Linked DNA regions of Homo sapiens: region 1 is linked to region 2. Evidence: promoter capture Hi-C in human tissues and cell types (Jung and others, 2019). All regions are on one chromosome and are shown on one strand. The core of a region is centred on a gene start or on the middle of the fragment in contact, and the rest is flanking DNA. Distances in the headings are between cores, read along the strand shown.

Region 1 (3,108 bases), core at 95-2,594, 1.8 Mb before region 2:
TAACAGAAACTAGTGCTGAAAAACGGAGCTCATTTTTTGTCTTCCTGAAAATATCTTCACAGAATTACTTTGCAGAACATGATGCAACCTACCTAGATTCTCTGCCTCTCCCGCTGTGGCTGTGTGAGCGCGATTGTTGTGTGAATGACGTTTGAAGATTCCAAACCTGCTCCACAAATTACTAAACACAGTCAAGGACTTTAATCTCAAACCATAGTGTCATGATCACGAGCCACCAAGCCCCTTCCACAAGTTCTTAGGAAGCCAGATAAGACTAGCAACACAAAAGCTGTTAGCAGGAAGGGCGTTTTAAAGACACAAGCCATGTTTTGTGCTTCCTCACCTCCCAGAAGGATTTTCCCTGGATGATCCACTAACACACCCTTTCCGAGATGTTTTCTCAAGGGCCTCCATTGTCTTCAGCATCCTCTCATCTCTTTCCTGTCCCTTTTCCCAGCTGTTGTCACTTCTCCCTCCCAAAGCTCCCAGATGCCTAGAGAAAACCTTCCAATTGTGTTCTCCTGGAGAAAGGCCCAAGCTCTGGAACTTTTTTCCGTTTACTCCACTCTCCCTCAGGCTTCAGTTATCTGCCCAGGTCTCCCAGAAATCAATGGAATAAATCTTTGGAGGTGGAATTTGACATATCGAGGGGAGGTATCTGGGTGTAGGGCAGATTACATCCGGGTAATGCTTTTCTTCCGCCTCCAGGGGTTTGGCTGAAAAGAAAGCACGCCTACATCTGCCTGGCAGCCATCTGGGCCTATGCTTCCTTCTGGACCACCATGCCCTTGGTAGGTCTGGGGGACTACGTACCTGAGCCCTTCGGAACCTCGTGCACCCTGGACTGGTGGCTGGCCCAGGCCTCGGTAGGGGGCCAGGTTTTCATCCTGAACATCCTCTTCTTCTGCCTCTTGCTCCCAACGGCTGTGATCGTGTTCTCCTACGTAAAGATCATTGCCAAGGTTAAGTCCTCTTCCAAAGAAGTAGCTCATTTCGACAGTCGGATCCATAGCAGCCATGTGCTGGAAATGAAACTGACAAAGGTAAGTGCACTAATATTTTACACATGTGTTTTCTGACTACTTACAACTTCATAGGGTACAAAGGATAGGGAACGTTGGAGACTGAGAGAACTTAGAATCTCTATTCTTTACGTAATTCTGAACTTCGTTGATGATTGTCTAAGCCTTTCTTTGTGGTATCTCTCTCCTCTTTCTGTCTCTGTACCCCCACTTCTCTCTTCTCTCTCTCTCTCTCTCACACACACACACACACACACACACACACACACATTTTCAATATCTACAAAATTTGTATAACCCATCAATTTGGGGCTTATCTGCTCTGCTGAATAGGGTACTATTGATTCATATTCATTATTTCAGTAATAAGAATAACTTTTATGAATCATACAATGCCTCACAGTATTTTCTGCGTTGCATGGACTTTGGGACATCATTAGGGACATTCTACCACTTGAATTATTTATAGAGTAAGAGTTTACCATGTGTGCTTTCCCATGGGAAGCTTGTGTTATGAACACGAGCAGTTTCTGCAGGCTTGAGTACCTTGGTAAACGGTAGTTTCAGAGGTGACAGTTCTTTAGGTATTGTGGAGTAAGGAAAAGAACAAGACTAGAGTTTAATCCCATCACCAGTACCTGCCAAGTTTGTGACCTAGAACTAGATATTTAGCTTTCTTGAATCCCTATTTCCTCACTTGCATAACAGGAATAGTGATATCTGTCTTATTGGGTTACGGTGGGAATTCAAAGAGATAAAGTATATTATTCTGTCATCTGGTGCATAGAAGGTGTTAGAGCAACCATGGTTTCTCCTTTTTCCTTATGCCTGTTAGGAATTACTGGTAAAGTCTAAAGCAGTGGTCTTCACATGTTCATGATTTTTTGCCCTTGTACTGAAAAAATATTTTCCAACACATGCCATCAATATAAATGACATACAGGTAATACCATCAAGCTTTGTATTAAATATTAGCACCCCCTAATTTAACCCCCCAAATTTTCTCTTCTATTTTAAAGATAAAAATAAAGGTAGATTGAAGTTATAATTATTTCTTCCTGTATCCCAATCAATCACGTTGATTGGTATCCTACCCTCGAGTATTCTCATGTTCACTTTGGAGACCACTAGTCTCAGGGACCCAGAGAAACACAGTTTCCCCCAGATAAGAGATGGCTTTTTAGTAAGTCAGAGACTTGGTTCTGGTAATATGCCTCTCTCCAAATTGCAGAATTTTTGGAGTTATACAAAGATCTCTTGGTTGCATATTGTATTAGTCTGCTATCACACTGCTAATGAAGATGTACCCAAGATGGGATAATTTATAAAGGAAAGAGATTTAATTGACTCACAATTCCACATGGCTGAGGAGGCCTAGCAATCATGGCAGAAGGCAAATGAAGAGCAAAGTCATGTCTTATATGGTGGCAGGCAAGAGAGCATGTGCAGGGGAACTCCCTTTTATAGAACCATCAGATCTTGTGAGACTTATTCACTATCATGAGAACAGCATGAGAAAGTCCTGCCCCCATGATTCGATTACCTCTCACTGGGTCCCTGCCATGACACATGAGCATTATGGGAGCTACAATTCAAGATGAGATCTGGGTGGGGGGACAGCCAAACCATATCACATACTGTGAGCTAGATTCCTGATGGCTCCAGTTGACTGTTATGCTCAAACTCTACATGCCAAGTAGAGGAAGCTTTGAGGGATATTTTCATCACTCTAAATCTATACTGATAGCTTAATAATAGAACAGTTCTTGGACAAAAATGCAGACTCAGGAAGCATGAACTTCTTCTGTCTTATAATTGGCTATAAAGTAGGAAAATATTTTCATAAAATGAAGCATTATGAGTTAGGTTCTTCATTTCTAGCTCTCCCTTTAGCTCTTACCTGCATCTTTCAAAAAAGAAATTTAAATAAATCAATCCTAGTTAAAGTTGAATTATATTTAATCAAAATCCTACTTTGTACCAGGTACTATTTTAGAAACTGGGCAAATGTACCAATGATGAAAAATTTGCTTTTCAGTAGTTTATGGAAGTGTGCCCAAGAAATGATGTGCAGACATTCATCACA
Region 2 (3,482 bases), core at 773-3,272:
GCTCATTGTGATTGAGGAGAAACCAGCCCAAGGTCAGGCATGTATATTTTTTGGTTGTTTTTGTTGTTGAAGAGACAGAGGTCTCACCATATGGTGCAGGCCAGATTCCAACTCCTAGGCTCAAGACACCCTCCCACCTCAATCTCCCAAGCAGCTGGGATTACCAGTAGGCGCCGCTGTGCCCACTAAGGTCAGGCTTCTAATCACCCAGGTCTGACCCAGATTTTCTCACTCCTCCTCTATCACTTTATTTCTTTATATGATTTGGCAGATATCAAAAGTCCTCCCTTTCCAAATATCTCACTATACTACTTTGTTTTTTACATATGGGCAGAATTTTTCACCATTGCACTCATTTTTCTAAATCAGGCAGGATTTAGATTTCTCTTTCTTTCCTTTCTTTTTTTTTCTTTTTCTTTTTTTTTTTGACAGATTCTTGCTCTAACACCCACACTAGAGAGCAGTGGTATGATCTTGGCTCACTGCAACCTCCCCCTCTCCCGTTCAAGCGATTTGGTGCCTCAGCATCCCAAGTAGCTGGGATTACTTACATGTGTGTACCACCATGCCTGACTAATTTTTGTACTTTTTGTAGAGACTGGGTTTCACCATGCTGACCAGGCTGGTCTCAAACTCCTGGCATCAAGTGATCCACCGGCCTCAGACTTCCAAAATGATGGGGCTACAGGTGTGAACCACCACACCCAGCCATCAGTGGGTTTTTTAATAAAACAAACAGCTAAGGATGAACTGGAAACCACAAACTGAGCTCTTTTTCTATGACCTAGCCTCCCCGGTTAACCTTAGGCAAAGAGTAGTGGTCAGCGGGCCTGCCTATGGGTAAATTCTAAAAGCCTCGCCAGAGACACTTAACTTTTTTTAACCCCTGTGGTTAAAGAGGACGGGTGGGTGCAGAGGGAATTTTATAAACGACACAAACACAAACAATTTTAAGTCCTGAAAAAATTCATTTGGATGTTTGTTTTGCTTCTGTTTTATAGCTTGTTTTAAATCAAAGACTACACCTTCCTGAGACAAGCGTTGATTACACACAAAATGAAGACTGGCCAGGGCCGTGGCTCAAGCCTGTAATCCCAGAATTTTGGGAGGCCCAGGTGGGTGTGTGGGTAGGGTGGGGGATCCTGGGTATCTCGTAAGCCCAGGAGTTCCAGACCAGCCTGGGCAATATAGGAGAGCCCCACCCCTACCATCTCTTAGAAAAATATAAATAAATAAATAAATAAATAAATAAATAAATAAATAAATAAAAGCCGGGCATGGGGGTGCGCGCCTGTAGTCCCGGCTACTTGACGGGCTGAGGTGGGAGCCTGGAAAGTCGAGGCTGCGCCACTGCACTCTATCCTGAGCTACAGAGCGAGACCATATCTAATGTGGGGGGGTGGGGTAAGAGGAAGGGGGAGCGGGGAGAGGGAGAGAGAAAGAGAGCGGGAAAAAAGAAGGAGGAGGAAGAGGAGGAGGAGGACACAGGTGTGACCATTGTCCTCCAGAGCTACAGATTCTGGCATTCTAAAGGAAGAAGGACAAAGAAACCAAAACCAGTTTCTCCAAGGCTTCAGCTTTTCAGTCTGACCATTTGATCTACATTCCATTATTTTGGCAGCATGGTGGGAGTGGATTCGGAATGGACAAAAACCCTTTTCAGAATTAGATCAGCTAATTAAAATGCACACAAACTTCTTTGTTCCTTCACCTCAAGGAGCGTCCTTGGAAAGCAAACATACTTCGGGGCATTTCAGTGGGGGCGCAGTGCGAGGGTGTCCTTTGCGCCTCAGCTCCGGAGAAAAACGAAAGGTGGGTGGGAAACTAGGATAGAGGTGAAAAGTAAGAGGGGACTGAATCAGCGAATGACAAAGGGAGCAGGGCTCCGGACAGGGGTAGGAGGAAGAAGAGGAGTGACTGGGGCTTGTGTCAAGCTTCTTCTGAATGGCTAGACAGCCGCCAGGTGGGAGAGGCGGAGGGTGAAGAGGCGGGTTCCGCACGCGGTTAGCCTGGGGCTGATCTAGTCTTCAGCTTTCACCGGCTGGGAGTCCGGAGCTGCAGCAGAGGCCACACCCAGGGCTTGGTGGTCCCGCGCTTTCCGGAGCTCAGCAGGCGCTTGCTGCTTGAACCGGTCAAAGAAGGAACGAATGAATGACCCTTTTGCCAGGATGGAGACCCGGGGGCCTCAGGGAGCTGCGAATCCCATGGACTCCTCCCGCAGCCTGGGGGACCTCGGGCCTTTTCCGCGGGAGGTAGGGCGCGGGGCTCCGCTAGCTCCGGGCGCCCGGAATCCCGCGACGGCAGGGGCGAGCCGAAGCCAGGGCGGCGGCCACGAGGACAGAACGGCAGATCGGGCCCTCGGACCTCGGGCCGGGGAGGAATTGGACCGTGAGTCCTGGGTCAGAGAGAAAGTGCTCTTTCTCCTGCACCCAGAGAGGTGGTTAGGGACTCGAGGGGACCCTGCACGGGAAGAGGTGGCCGGTGCAGAGGACCTTCCTCATGCGGGTGGAGAGGACCACGGCGAGGAGCCCAACTACCCTTCTGTCTTTCAACGACAAAAGCGAATTTCTGGCAGGCGTGTAGCCCCGCCGCGGGACGCAGCAGACCCACCCAAATACGTGCTTGTGCGGGTGGAGGATTATCAGGTAACACAAGAAGTGTTGCAGACCTCCTGGGCCAAGGGTCGCATGACCACGAGGACTGAGGAGCACTTCGTGACCGCGCTCACTTTTCGCAGCAGTAGAGAGGGACAGCCTGGGGAACGCTGGGGCCCTGCTGAATCCCGGGCTCTCCAGGCACGAACAGGGGCATCCCGCGTCCACGCCGCGGGGAGGAGGGTTTCACCGTCTCCAGGGACTTGGCTCGAGGAAATTAAACTCTAATGAGTAGCTCGAGAAATGTTCCGGGATGGTGGATGAGCGATCATCCTTAAAAGAAAATGCTATTCTGGGAGCTCCAACCTGCAATTAACCTACAGAAGGAACCTTTTGAGAGGCTGGTGCAGCGCTTCGGGGAGGCAGATTAAGAACTGTAAGCAGCATAATACCTCCTTTGTGGCTTGAATTCCTTCGCTGTCTGGGGACCTAAGTCATTCAGAAGAGGTGGAGAAAAGATATTTTCAGATTGGCAGAATGTGGGAGTTTTGAAATGAGAAAACCTGTTGTTAATTTGCATTTTGGAATAACTCTCAATTGATCTCTTTTCTGTTCCCCGCCCCCCTCTTGTTTCTCTTTAGGACCTAGAAACAGAAGTGAAGTTTGAAGTCTGCTCTCTGCAAAGAGGGTGGGAGTGGGTGGAGAAGAGGCTTGTTTTAAAAGCCAAAAACAGAAAGTAAAAAGAAATGGGAAAGTAAAACCAAAGCAGCAAGTGACTCTCTTCTGATGTGCACTTTTCATTTTTCTCCCCCACATTTCAGTGTTAGAAAGAAAACGAGAGGAGCTAGGGAAAGAAGGAGTTGGGGACAGAAGACTAAGATTTCAACG

What was found. The method cuts DNA at HindIII sites, captures the fragments that hold promoters and counts their contacts. A contact is called where the count stands out against the background at its distance.
Region 1: a fragment that was not itself captured here is called in contact with the fragment with the promoter of C6orf141 in region 2 in 1 of the 25 tissues and cell types used here (dorsolateral prefrontal cortex).

What each region holds. Positions count from the first base shown.
Region 1 is chr6:47,794,521-47,797,628 of GRCh38, forward strand. It overlaps OPN5 (opsin 5), which reads left to right. Exons shown (of 7, transcript NM_181744.4): 4 at 709-1,043. Among named protein-coding and RNA genes, the nearest start is that of OPN5, 14 kb to the left of the region's middle. The HindIII fragment of the contact is 3,438 bases long and covers 1-3,063 here.
Region 2 is chr6:49,548,646-49,552,127 of GRCh38, forward strand. C6orf141 (chromosome 6 open reading frame 141) reads left to right here and starts at 2,023. Exons shown (of 1, transcript NM_001145652.2): 1 at 2,023-3,450. The coding sequence starts at 2,148. The coding sequence ends at 2,882. RefSeq lists a silencer at 2,008-2,067 and enhancers at 2,738-2,807, 2,824-3,343. The HindIII fragment of the contact is 21,386 bases long and covers 1-3,482 here.